2 separate regions of the Homo sapiens genome follow, and region 1 is linked to region 2. The links are contacts of gene promoters, found by promoter capture Hi-C in human tissues and cell types (Jung and others, 2019). All regions are on one chromosome and are shown on one strand. The core of a region is centred on a gene start or on the middle of the fragment in contact, and the rest is flanking DNA. Distances in the headings are between cores, read along the strand shown. Region 1 overlaps CREBRF (CREB3 regulatory factor). Region 2 holds the start of NKX2-5 (NK2 homeobox 5).

The links. Contacts are between HindIII fragments. The study calls those that stand out against the background at their distance.
Region 1: a fragment that was not itself captured here is called in contact with the fragment with the promoter of NKX2-5 in region 2 in 1 of the 25 tissues and cell types used here (bladder).

Annotation. Positions count from the first base shown.
Region 1 is chr5:173,065,572-173,071,295 of GRCh38, reverse strand. The region is part of intron 1 of CREBRF (CREB3 regulatory factor); the gene reads right to left. Among named protein-coding and RNA genes, the nearest start is that of CREBRF, 12 kb to the right of the region's middle. The HindIII fragment of the contact is 7,444 bases long and covers 1-5,724 here.
Region 2 is chr5:173,233,799-173,239,354 of GRCh38, reverse strand. NKX2-5 (NK2 homeobox 5) reads left to right here and starts at 4,149. Exons shown (of 2, transcript NM_004387.4): 1 at 4,149-4,605. The coding sequence starts at 4,272. RefSeq lists enhancers at 80-653, 5,470-5,556. The HindIII fragment of the contact is 11,596 bases long and covers 1,143-5,556 here.

The DNA of each region.
Region 1 (5,724 bases), core at 1,086-3,585, 170 kb after region 2:
AGGTTGCAGTGATGCGAGATCATGGCGCTGCACTCCAGCTTGGGCAACAAAAGCAAAACTCCATCTCAAACAAACAAACAAAAATACTCATACACAATGACACTATCTTTCCAACTCTGTCTTCCACTACTCTTAAGTCTAATATTAGACTGATTTTACCATTTCCCCTAATCCTCAAGATAGTTACAATCCCACTTTACTCCACTAAGAACTTCCAGTAGTGAGACTGACCTTCATGTCTTAGCTCATATTTTTCATCTTCTCTCCTATTCCCTTGCTTCCACTACCAGACTGTGACATCTTTGAGAATGACCATCATATCTCACATCTATTTCACTACAGTGCCAAATGCAATGCCCTTCCGAGCAGTCATCCACACAAGAGATGGCTGAAAATGAATGGGAAAATCCCCTAAGACCACATGTCCTTCTGGATAAGGAATCAAAGGTGTGGTGCTCTTCACAATGAGGACATTACAAAAAAGTCAATTATTCAATATATATTTATTGAGCATCGTTTATGTGCTCCAAAGCATCTTAGTTTGTTAAATTGAGTCTTGAACCACTGTAGTATCATATAGTAAAAATATGAAAAATTGTACTCCTGAATTTTTTTTAATTTCCAAGAAGAGTGATATTTAAATTTTAGTCCATTTTAAAGACCTGATGTAATTATTATCTAGGGAAGAGAGGACAGAGGAAGAAGTAGAATTAAATTTAATTTAAATCAACTGAATTCAGGCACTGGACCGATGCATGTTATATTGTTCTCTCCCTCGTCATTATTTTATTTTAATATTTTAAACTACAAAGCAGGAAGATAAACTCACCATAGTAAAACAAAATATTTTATGCAGGATGTTAAAGATTTTAGTTTTAAAGAATCACTTTGTTTTCTAAGCTGTTCTGCAGAAATCTATAAAATGTTAAAAAGAGAACAGTACAATTAATGGCAGCGGCATAAAAACAGGCAGTGGTGCAAGTGAGAATGCACTGGAGCACACAGCAGGATTCCAGTGACACCACACATTCTTCACACACTGTAACAACTTTGATGCTGTTGTTAGCAAGGATTTGAACTCTTCTTCAAAATTTACTGTAGGGGCAAGGTACAGTGGTTCACTGCCTATAATCCCAGCACTTTGGGAGGCCAAGGTAGACAGACCACTTGAGATCAGGAGTTCAAGACCAGCCTGGCCAACATGGCGAAACCATCTCTACTGAAAAGACAAAAATTAGTTAGGCGTGGTGGCACACACCTGTAGTCCCAGCTGCTCAGGAGGCTGAGGCATGAGAATCGCTTGAACTCGGGATTACAGTAAGCCGAGATCACGCCACTGCATTCCAGCCTAGACTACAAGAGAGATTCCGTCTCAAAAAAAAAAAAAATTGTTTCCTTCCTCCTTTCTCAGATTTGGCACCTTTTCAAAAGCAGCATGAAATATACTAGAGATATATTCAAATTCCTTCCTACTGTGAAGCAGGCTATACCACCAGCATAAACTACATAATAGCCAGTACAGAGGTTATTTGAACATGGTTTTGCAGTCATCTCTTTTAACACTGAGAAAAGCTCGGTGCCACTTTGGCTCTAACATTCCTAAAAAGCTTGCTTTATGAGGAACAAACTCTAGGTAAAAGGTTATGCATTGTGAGTGAATATTTTGAATTTCATGGCCAGGCATGGTGGCTCACGCCTGTAATCCCTGCACTTTGGGAGGCCAAGCTGGGTGGATCACTTGAGGCCAGGAGTTCGAGACCAGCCTGGCCAACATGGTGAAACCCCATCTCTACTAACAATACAAAAATTAGCTGGGTGTGGTGGCGCACATGTAATCCCAGGTATTCAGGAGGCTGAGATGGGGGAATTGCTTGAACCCGGGAGGTAGAGATTGCGGCACTGCACTCCAGCCTGGGTAACTGAGTGAGACTCTGTCTCAAAAAAAAAAGAAATATATTTAAAAAAAAGAATTTCATTCCAGACTCTCATCTGCCTTACTTTATGTATAAATGCAAGAATTCCCCATTATTTTGTGGGGATATTGTGATTCACAATAAAATAACATATAAAGTATCTAGCCCTAGCACAAAACAGACACTCAATAAATGGTGGCTATTTTTATTCTCAGATCTATTCCTTGGTATGTGATACTCCTGGGATGTTGCTGCTATTAAGGTATAAAACCAAACTCAACTCAGAATCCTTTTCTTTTTTTTTGTTTTTTGAGACGGAGTCTCCCTCTGTCGCCCAGGCTGGAGTGCAGTGGCGTGATCTCAGCTCACTGCAACCTCCACCTCCCAGGTTCAAGCAATTCTCCTGCCTCAGCCTCCTGAGTAGCTGGGACTACAGGTGCACGCCACCACGCTCAGCTAATTTTTTTTTTTTTTTCAGTACTGATGGGGTTTCACCATGTTGCCCAGGCTGGTCTCGAACTCCTGAGCTCAGGCAATTCGCCTGCCTCGGCCTCCCAAAGTGCTGGGATTACAGGCGTGAGCCACCGCGCCTGGCCCACTCAAAATCCTAAATTGTCTAAATTCCACATTCCACCAAGCTAGAACCAGGGTGAATATGGGATACTCAGGCAACACACGACACTTAACACCCTTGCCCCCAGGTTTATGAGGGTGTATGTCAATTATGCTGGTTTAATCAGCAAAAGAATCTCTGGACTCACAAAGTCATTCATAAAGCTGCAAACTAGTCATCTCTATACACAATAAAGAAATGGCAGATAAAGGGGAAAAGGCCTCTTTAGAAAGATTATTGCTCTTTATTGTTCAAACAATTACATATAATTTATCACTTTTTCATAGTTCATTATACTGGCTTCACCAAATGGCTCTGGACAATCTGAGCCATATGAAACAGAGTCATATAAAATTTGTATGTATATCTGTAACACCTTGCATAGTTTCTAATAAAGAGACACACAGAGTTTATACCATACTTGTCTCAAAAGTGTTGAGATAAATCAAACAAGTGAGGCAGATTATTCCAACTGCTGAGAAAACATAGCACTGAATATAATCAGCAGCTATCAGAGAAGGAGAAGTACATAGAGTAACCTGAACCTAGTTCCACTCCTCCATCAGGCAGTCAGTATTCTTAATATCCTTCCAATCAGACAAAAGAATAAAATTTACAGTAACTCGTTAGTTTTTAACTTGGGAATTTTGACAACCAGCAAGTTATTATGCTAATAAAACTAAGGTAAAAAGGACCTAACAAGTGCACTCTACTGGGAGGATATACATTTTAAAACAGAAGACAAAATTAACTGAAGATTTTTTTTTTTTGAGGTGGAGTCTCGCTCTGTCGCCCAGGCTGGAGTGCAGTGGAGCGATCTTGGCTCACTGCAAGCTCCACCTTCTGGGTTCACACCATTCTCCTGCCTCAGCCTCCCGAGTAGCTGGGACTACAGGTGCCCGCCACCACACCCGGCTTATTTTTTGTATTTTTAGTAGAGATGGGGTTTCACTGCGTTAGCCAAGATGGTCTCGATCTCCTGACCTCTTCTTGATCCACCCGCCTCAGCCTCCCAAAGTGCTGGGATTACAGGTGTGAGCCACGGCACCCGGCCAATTAACTGAAGATTTAAAGCCAAGGTCTCAAACTGTACTGCAGTGAGAAATCAACGCCCACAAATCAGTTGTGTTCAGTTGCAAATCAGTTGCATTAGTGTTTTTTAAATTGTAACTACCAGTATTTAAATTTCACATGAAATTTCATATAAAATTTGATGTCTGATCTCAAATACCACTCTTTTGGGGGAAAAAATTAGATCTGACATTGGGTATACATTCCCAGAAAGATGATCACTTGAACTAAAAAGAGGTATCCTCTTTAAATTGGCCTGTGCTCTCTAGCTTGCTTGAATCTCCACCCAGTCCCATTTTACAGATTATGAATCTAAGCTGAAAGATGCTCAAAACCACAGAACTAGCAAAATGCCTATTTATGAATGTTGGGTGTTCAGTCTTGACAGCTCTGCAACTCAACTTCCAAATAAAATGTAATGAATGTTAAAAGAGATATCTAAAAGACTTGTACATGAATATTTAAAGCCATTTTATTTATAATAGCCTAAAATCTGGAAGCAATGCAAATGTCTACCCACTGATAAACAGATAAATTGTGGTATGTCCATACAATGACAAAGGCTCAGGCCGAGCACGGTGGCTCAGGCTGAGAAAGGTGGCTCACACCTGTAATCCCAGTACTTTGGGAGGCTAAGGCAGGAGGACTGCTTGCAACCAAAAGTTCCAGACGAGCCTGGGAAACATGACAAAACCCCATCTCTGCAAAAAATCAAAAATTAATCAGGCATGATGATGGCACCTGTAGTCCCAGACACTCGTGAGGCTGAGGAAGGAGGATCACTCTAGCCCAGGAGGTCAAGGATACAATGAGCCATTATCACGCCACTGCACTCAGCCTGGGCAACAGAATGAGACCCTGTCTCAAAAAAAAAAAAAAAAAAAAAAAAAGATTCAATGAATATACGACACAATATGAGTATCTCAAAATCAATGTTAACTAAAAGAAGTCAGACTCAAAAGACAACACATTCTACCAAAAGATTTATATGAAATTTCAGAGAAGACAAAACAATAGTGATACAAAGCAAATCAGTGACTGGAGCCAAGGGCGAGTGCAGGAGAACTGAACAAAAGGGGCATGAGGAACTTTCTGTGGTGATAAAAATGTTAGAGATATAACAGTGGTTAGACGACAGCATGTGTTTGTCAAAACTCAAAATTGGTTGAATTTTCTTTTACATAAATTATAATTCAATAAAGCTGAATTTTAAAAAGAGGTGTTTACAAAATAATAGACAACTACCGAGAATACTACTACCTGGGAAAGTTTGGAAAAGCTTTAGGAAAAAGGTGAATTGGACTTTGTTATCAAACAATTTGTAGGTGCATAAGAAATAGAAAACAGGGCACATAGGCAGTCACATTCTACACTGTGGCCTTTGAAGAAGTAGCATCTTTGAATACAAAGGAAAATGTTTCATAAAAAGAAATTCACAGAAATGGATAATTAGTCTTTGAACAGGTATCAAAAGCTAGTTGATCTTACAAGATTTCCCAAGAGGGAATCAGCTTATTTTGCTATTTACATGTAAAATAAGCAGATAGTGCGCAAGAATTTATTTTGTTTTGCTTTTAAATAAAAGATAATGAGAGGTGGCACACGCCTGCAGCCTGAGCTACTCAGGAGGCTGAGATGGGATTGTTTGACACCGGGAGTTTGAGGCCAGCTTGGGCAACACAGCAAAACCCCATCTCAAAAAAAATAAAAAATAAAATAAAGCAAATAAAAAGGAAAGGTAGGGGCAAAGAGAAACCCAAAGGGGCCAGGTGCGGTTGGTCACGCCTGTAATCGCACATTTTGGGACGCCAAGGTGGGTGGGTGGCTTGAGCCCTGGAGTTTAAGACCAGCCTGGGCAATGTGGGGAAACCCTGTCTCTACAAAAAAAATTAGCTGGGCATGGTGGCACACACCTGTAGTCTCAGCTACTCGTGAGGCTGAGGTGGGAGGATCACTTGAGCCCCAGGTCAAGGCTGCAGTGAACCATGACTGTGCCACTGCACCATCCTGTCTTTAAAAAAAAAAAAAAAGAAGAAGAAGAAAAAGGAAAAGAAAAGGAAAGAAATATAACCCAAAGGGAATAAAGAGAGAGAGGGAGGGAGGGTGGGAGGTGAAATAAACGCAAGA
Region 2 (5,556 bases), core at 2,900-5,399:
GTCTATGAAGGTTGGGGAGACCTGGCATCTCAAATCCAACAGCCTGGTCCTCTCCCCTGGCTGCGGGGTGGGGGGTGATGGTGGGGGTCTTGCTCTTCCTCCAGTTGGTACGGTCTTGGGCGCAGCGACGTGTAATAAAAGAAAACAGTCTCAGCTGTGCAGTCAGCTGTGTGTTCGAATCCTAACACCCTGACACTGTCCTTTCCCATCTGTGTGACCCTGAGCAACTTACTCCACGTCTCTGAACCTCATTCTCCTCAGGCCTGCAGTCGGAATAAGAGGATCCGTGACGAGATCCGTGAGAGCGCCTGGCACACCCCGTGGGCACTGAACAAGCGTGGAAATGAGAAGGATTTGGTGCCAGCTGAGCCACCTGAATGAGGCGAGTCCCGAGGCAGGAAAAATCCGGTGCCGCGGAGGCCGCCTGGACTCTTCCGGAGCCAAGGGCGAGGTCGGCGGCCCTCAGAGTCGCCCCCCGCCCCCAACTCCCGGCCAGGAAGGAAGCCGGGCGGCGGAGGGGCCCAGCGCGGAGGCGGAGGCGGAGGCGGAGGCGGAGGCCGAGGCCGGGAGTCCGGCGCGCAGCCGGAGCTGCTCATCCATCAGCCGGACGAAGAGCAGAGTCGCGCTCTCGGCCCTCTGTTTGCTTTCTCGCCAATTATTGCAGCGCCGCAGCCCCTTTGTTGATACAGTAGTCCGAAAAAGTGCTAATGTTCATTTATCAGGGGGCCAGCCGGGGACTCCCACGAGTTGCGATTCTTCCCAAAATATAAACATGGGGCGAGCGTCCCAGACAGAAACTCCCATCTGTTTCCCCCGCGCGGGCCGAGAGCGAGGCGTTGTTGAAGATAAAGCCGCGGATAACGCCGCCTGTCTCCAATGGACGTCTCCCCAGCGCATTAATGACATTCCCGGTGATAGTTCCAGCTTATCTTTCAATTAATCATATATACCTTTTGCGACCAGCCCTGCTGATTGCACGAAAGGGGGGCCGGCTCCGGCTGCGCCGATCGCTTTTCAATTAATAATAATTTATTCACGGAGAATGCGCTCGAGCCACCCTGGAATTTGGATTATCTTAAAGCACCAACTCTTTAAAAGTCAAGGAAATACACAGATAGATTTTCGATCTCTTCTCTCTCCTTTTGTCTCTCTCTGCCTTTCTCTAGGCTGAAGGCTGTTTGTTTGTCCTGCTAGTTTGGTCAAAGTGCGGCGCAGAGAGGCGGCCAGGTTGGGTCAGCGGCCCTTGGGAAAAAAAGATGTGTCCCTGTTGGGGGCCAGAGAATCAAGTTTCCTCCCACCCAACCCCCAACTATTGCAATTTCTATTTAGATCTATTTAGAGGGATTTTTTTTTAACTCACTCGGAAACAGTGAGGACTGGAAAGAAAAGCTGCAAATGGCTCTCGGACTTTCCTCTAAGGAGACCAGCATGGGTCGCCCCAATTTCTATTTTGCACGTATTTGTCCGTTTTTGCCCCATCTCCTCTCTCCTGCAACACCAAGACCTTTTTGGAAGCCAAGAGAAATCATTACCCGATTCACAAAGAGCATAGAGAGTGTAACAGTCACTGATCTTGTTCAAATAGGGAGAGTTTTTTTTCCTTCCCTTTTTGTAACACCTGACCCACAGGACTGACAGTTCTAGGAAGCCCCCTTACCCGAAAATAGGAAATAAATCCTTGCCACCTTGATTTGCAAGGGCAATGCTAATTTTTTTCTTTCTCCAGAGCTCTCAAAAAAAAAAAAAAAAAAACCTTACTAAAAACAGGGATCCCGGATGTAGCCTCGATGTCCCCCATTAAACGGTAATATTTCAGGCGTCCGCTCACACTAATCTTTCAAACTGTCATCGCGAGCCGCCTGGCCAGCAGATTCACTTAACAGCGCTCCCAGGACCCTCGTTCCGAGCTCTTTTCAGCGAGACATTTAATTGAATCGGATGTGGCTCGTTTGCCAGACGTCACCGCCTCGGCGATAGGCATCCTCTCCAACGACACCCCCCCCCGCCCGCGCTCGAAAACAATCTTCAAAGGCAAGGCGGGCCCCCAAGCTAGGTTAATTTACAGCCATAACGGTAACGTGGCCAAAAGTCCAGGCGAGGAAGGGCCGCAAGGCCGCTGACATGCAGCTCCGTCCAAGGAGAATTTGGGTTGGGAGGTGAAGAGGTGGGGGGACGAGGTTTCCTGGGCCTTGAACGCCCCACATTTAAGAAAAGGCATCCTCCACAGACTAGACTAACAATTCCAGACCCCCAGTAGTCCCTGGCTCAGAAACTCGAGGCGTGATTTCGGCGTGGCAGCCCAGGCCTGTTACTGACGGCTGGCGCCTAGAAGCCGGGGTCAGGGCGTTGCGCGCCTCCTGGGCTGCCCTGCGGGGCTCACCTCTCTCCCCAGCATGGAGGCCCCAGGTCCTGGGAGTGTGGCTTTGATGAGGGACAGGAAAAGTCCCAACATCAGGCCAATGCTTGACTTCACTTGCGTCGGCGTCTCAGACGGCACACTGTCGGGTTTGAGCACCCAAGATGTACGTTCTGGACAGACACTATTTTGTCCCCATACATGGAGCGTTTCCTCCGCACCTTGGGCGCGCCTGCGGGAGCTGTGTCTTTAGGTAGTTTTTGGCCCTGCGCCGCCTTTATTCTACTCCAAGCGCCTCTTGCCAACCCGCACTCCGCAAAGAGCCAAGCCCTCCACATCCCCATTCTCAGCAAGTCCACGCGTCCCGCCCAGCTTCCCGCCCGCGGTTCCCTGTACCAGCTAGGGCCGTGAGAAGCCAACGCTTTTCCACTGACAAATCCTGTCATCCCCAGCTCTAGAAGGCGTCCTTAACCTGGGCCCGCTCTGCCTGCCCGGACTCCTGAATTGTAAGCAAAATAAAACTCCTCTCTGCAGTGTTCTGGGGAATGGAGAAGACCCCAAGCTTTCATCAGACCTCCCAAGGAGTGCGGGGACCCAGAGAAATGAGGCCACCCGGGCAGGATCTGGCCATGTAGCTGGCGCTCCTGAAACTCTGGCAGATTTGTCTGACTTCTGTGCCCTACTCTACTGACCCTGGGCTAAAAATGATCATGATCACCCCACTTGCCCTGCCCTTCCCCCACGCGCCTGACCGAGCCGCAGGGGTGCCCCACTGGAAGTCCGGCCCAGAGGCCTCAGAGAAATCCTGGCCTAGCTGGGCTCAGAGGAGCCCCGCCTCCCTGAGAGCTAAACCTGGGCTAGGACCCTGAAACCTCGAGGTTGGCAGAAGCCTGAGGGCCTTGCTGCCAGGCAGGGAGGGCACGGGAAGGAGGGAGGTGGGATCGATGGCCTCCAAACAGGGGAAACAAGGTGGCTGGTAGCTGGGGCACTCCACAAGACAGGTGTCTCCTGGGAAGCTGAGCTTACCAGCTGGGATTCCTGATTTATTTCATTATTAAGGGGAGAGGCATTTCCCTGGGAGGGTACTGGCAGTGACTGATGCCCCCTGGAGTTGTGCTGTGCATAACACTACTGTAGGAGGCAGCAACTCCTACCCCACCTGGCCATCACTCACCTTGCCCTTACTTTCGTTGACTCGCCCAGAAGCACCCAGAGCCTGCGGCATGACTGACCCTGTAGGCCAAGCCAAACCAAACCCCCGAATTGTCCAGAATCTCGCCCTGCTGCTATCCCCAAAGCCAGCCCTGTCCTCCAGGCTTCTCTTCCTATTCAGACTCTCCCTCATCCCACCACCTTCAGTAATAAAGCCTTCCTCAAATCACTCTCCTCCCCACCGCTTCCCACCCCATCCTTCTCTCTCCCATGCTGGTTTGGGTGCTGAGGAATATTTCTTCAAACCCACACCCATCCAGCCCTGCCCAGAGGCCTGACTCTGCATGCCTCTGGTAGGCTTTTCAGGCTCACATTAGGGAGCAAACGCAGGCTGCAGGAGCAAAAGGAGACCCTTCCAAATGCGTCGTGGCCCCTTTAAAAAAGCTGGGCAGGGCTTTTTTTTTTTTTTTTTTTTTTTTTTTTTTTTTTTTTTTTTGCCGTATGACTATATTAGGTGACACGAAACTGCTCATCGCTCCTGTCATCGAGGCCCCTGGCCCAATGGCAGGCTGAGTCCCCCTCCTCTGGCCTGGTCCCGCCTCTCCTGCCCCTTGTGCTCAGCGCTACCTGCTGCCCGGACACATCCAGAGCTGGCCGACGGGTGCGCGGGCGGGCGGCGGCACCATGCAGGGAAGCTGCCAGGGGCCGTGGGCAGCGCCGCTTTCTGCCGCCCACCTGGCGCTGTGAGACTGGCGCTGCCACCATGTTCCCCAGCCCTGCTCTCACGCCCACGCCCTTCTCAGTCAAAGACATCCTAAACCTGGAACAGCAGCAGCGCAGCCTGGCTGCCGCCGGAGAGCTCTCTGCCCGCCTGGAGGCGACCCTGGCGCCCTCCTCCTGCATGCTGGCCGCCTTCAAGCCAGAGGCCTACGCTGGGCCCGAGGCGGCTGCGCCGGGCCTCCCAGAGCTGCGCGCAGAGCTGGGCCGCGCGCCTTCACCGGCCAAGTGTGCGTCTGCCTTTCCCGCCGCCCCCGCCTTCTATCCACGTGCCTACAGCGACCCCGACCCAGCCAAGGACCCTAGAGCCGAAAAGAAAGGTGAGGAGGAAACACAGGCCCCCTTCTCCCCTCCTGGGTCGCTTTCGTCCCCAAGAAACTCAGGGCCAGGAGGAGGAGACACGCGCCCTTGGGCCGAGGGCTGGGCTGCGGCGGGGGGTTCAGAATGTAAGATGCCTGGTGTTGTCGCCAGGCTCCCGCGCCCCGCGTCCAATCGGAGGTTCAGAGGAAATGCCGGATTGAAAGGATCAGAAGCAAGAGACCAAAAAACGTTTCCCCCCGGCCTAACAAAGCCCCGGGCGGCTTCGGCTCTGCTCCTGGGTCTGGTAGGAAGTTGAGAAATCGGTTTATGGTAGACAGAACAGAGAGACAAGCAGATAATCTCTGTTTTTAAATCTCCTTTGGATTTACGAATCTTTTTAAAGATCTGATGAGAACCGCTAAACAGAAATTGAAATGTTGCTCACCAGACAGCTTTTGCGTACAATCGGAGGAGGGTCCTGGACCTTCTTTCTGCAGCCCACCCACGACCCGGGTTTCTGGTGCCTTTCTTTCTTTGCGCCAGGAAAGTGGAGTCTGGGATCGAGGGCCTTGATTTTAAAATGGGATACTGCGGACCCTCAGGAATCTGACTTCACTTTATTTTTTCAGCACAACTTGCCGGCGCGGCCAGGGCGGAGAGGTTCCCTCGTGGAAAAGTTAGGAAATGCTGCGCTACCGCGGGCACAAGGGAGTGGACGAGATGAGTGCGGGATCATCCCGCAGGCCATCCCAGGATCGGGGAGGGAGGCCGGCCCCGCTGCAGAAAGGGGCCTTCTGGGAGACCCCCCAGCCCAAGGCAGGAGCCCGGGCGATTCCCGGGAGGCCGCAGGCGCTGGGCGAAGCGCTGGGCGAAGGGCCGCTGCCAGCCGGGAGAGAATTCATAGGTTTGTTGAGGAGCAGAGGCCTGGGAACAAATTCGGGCGGGCACGGCGGCTAGAACTGATCGCTACC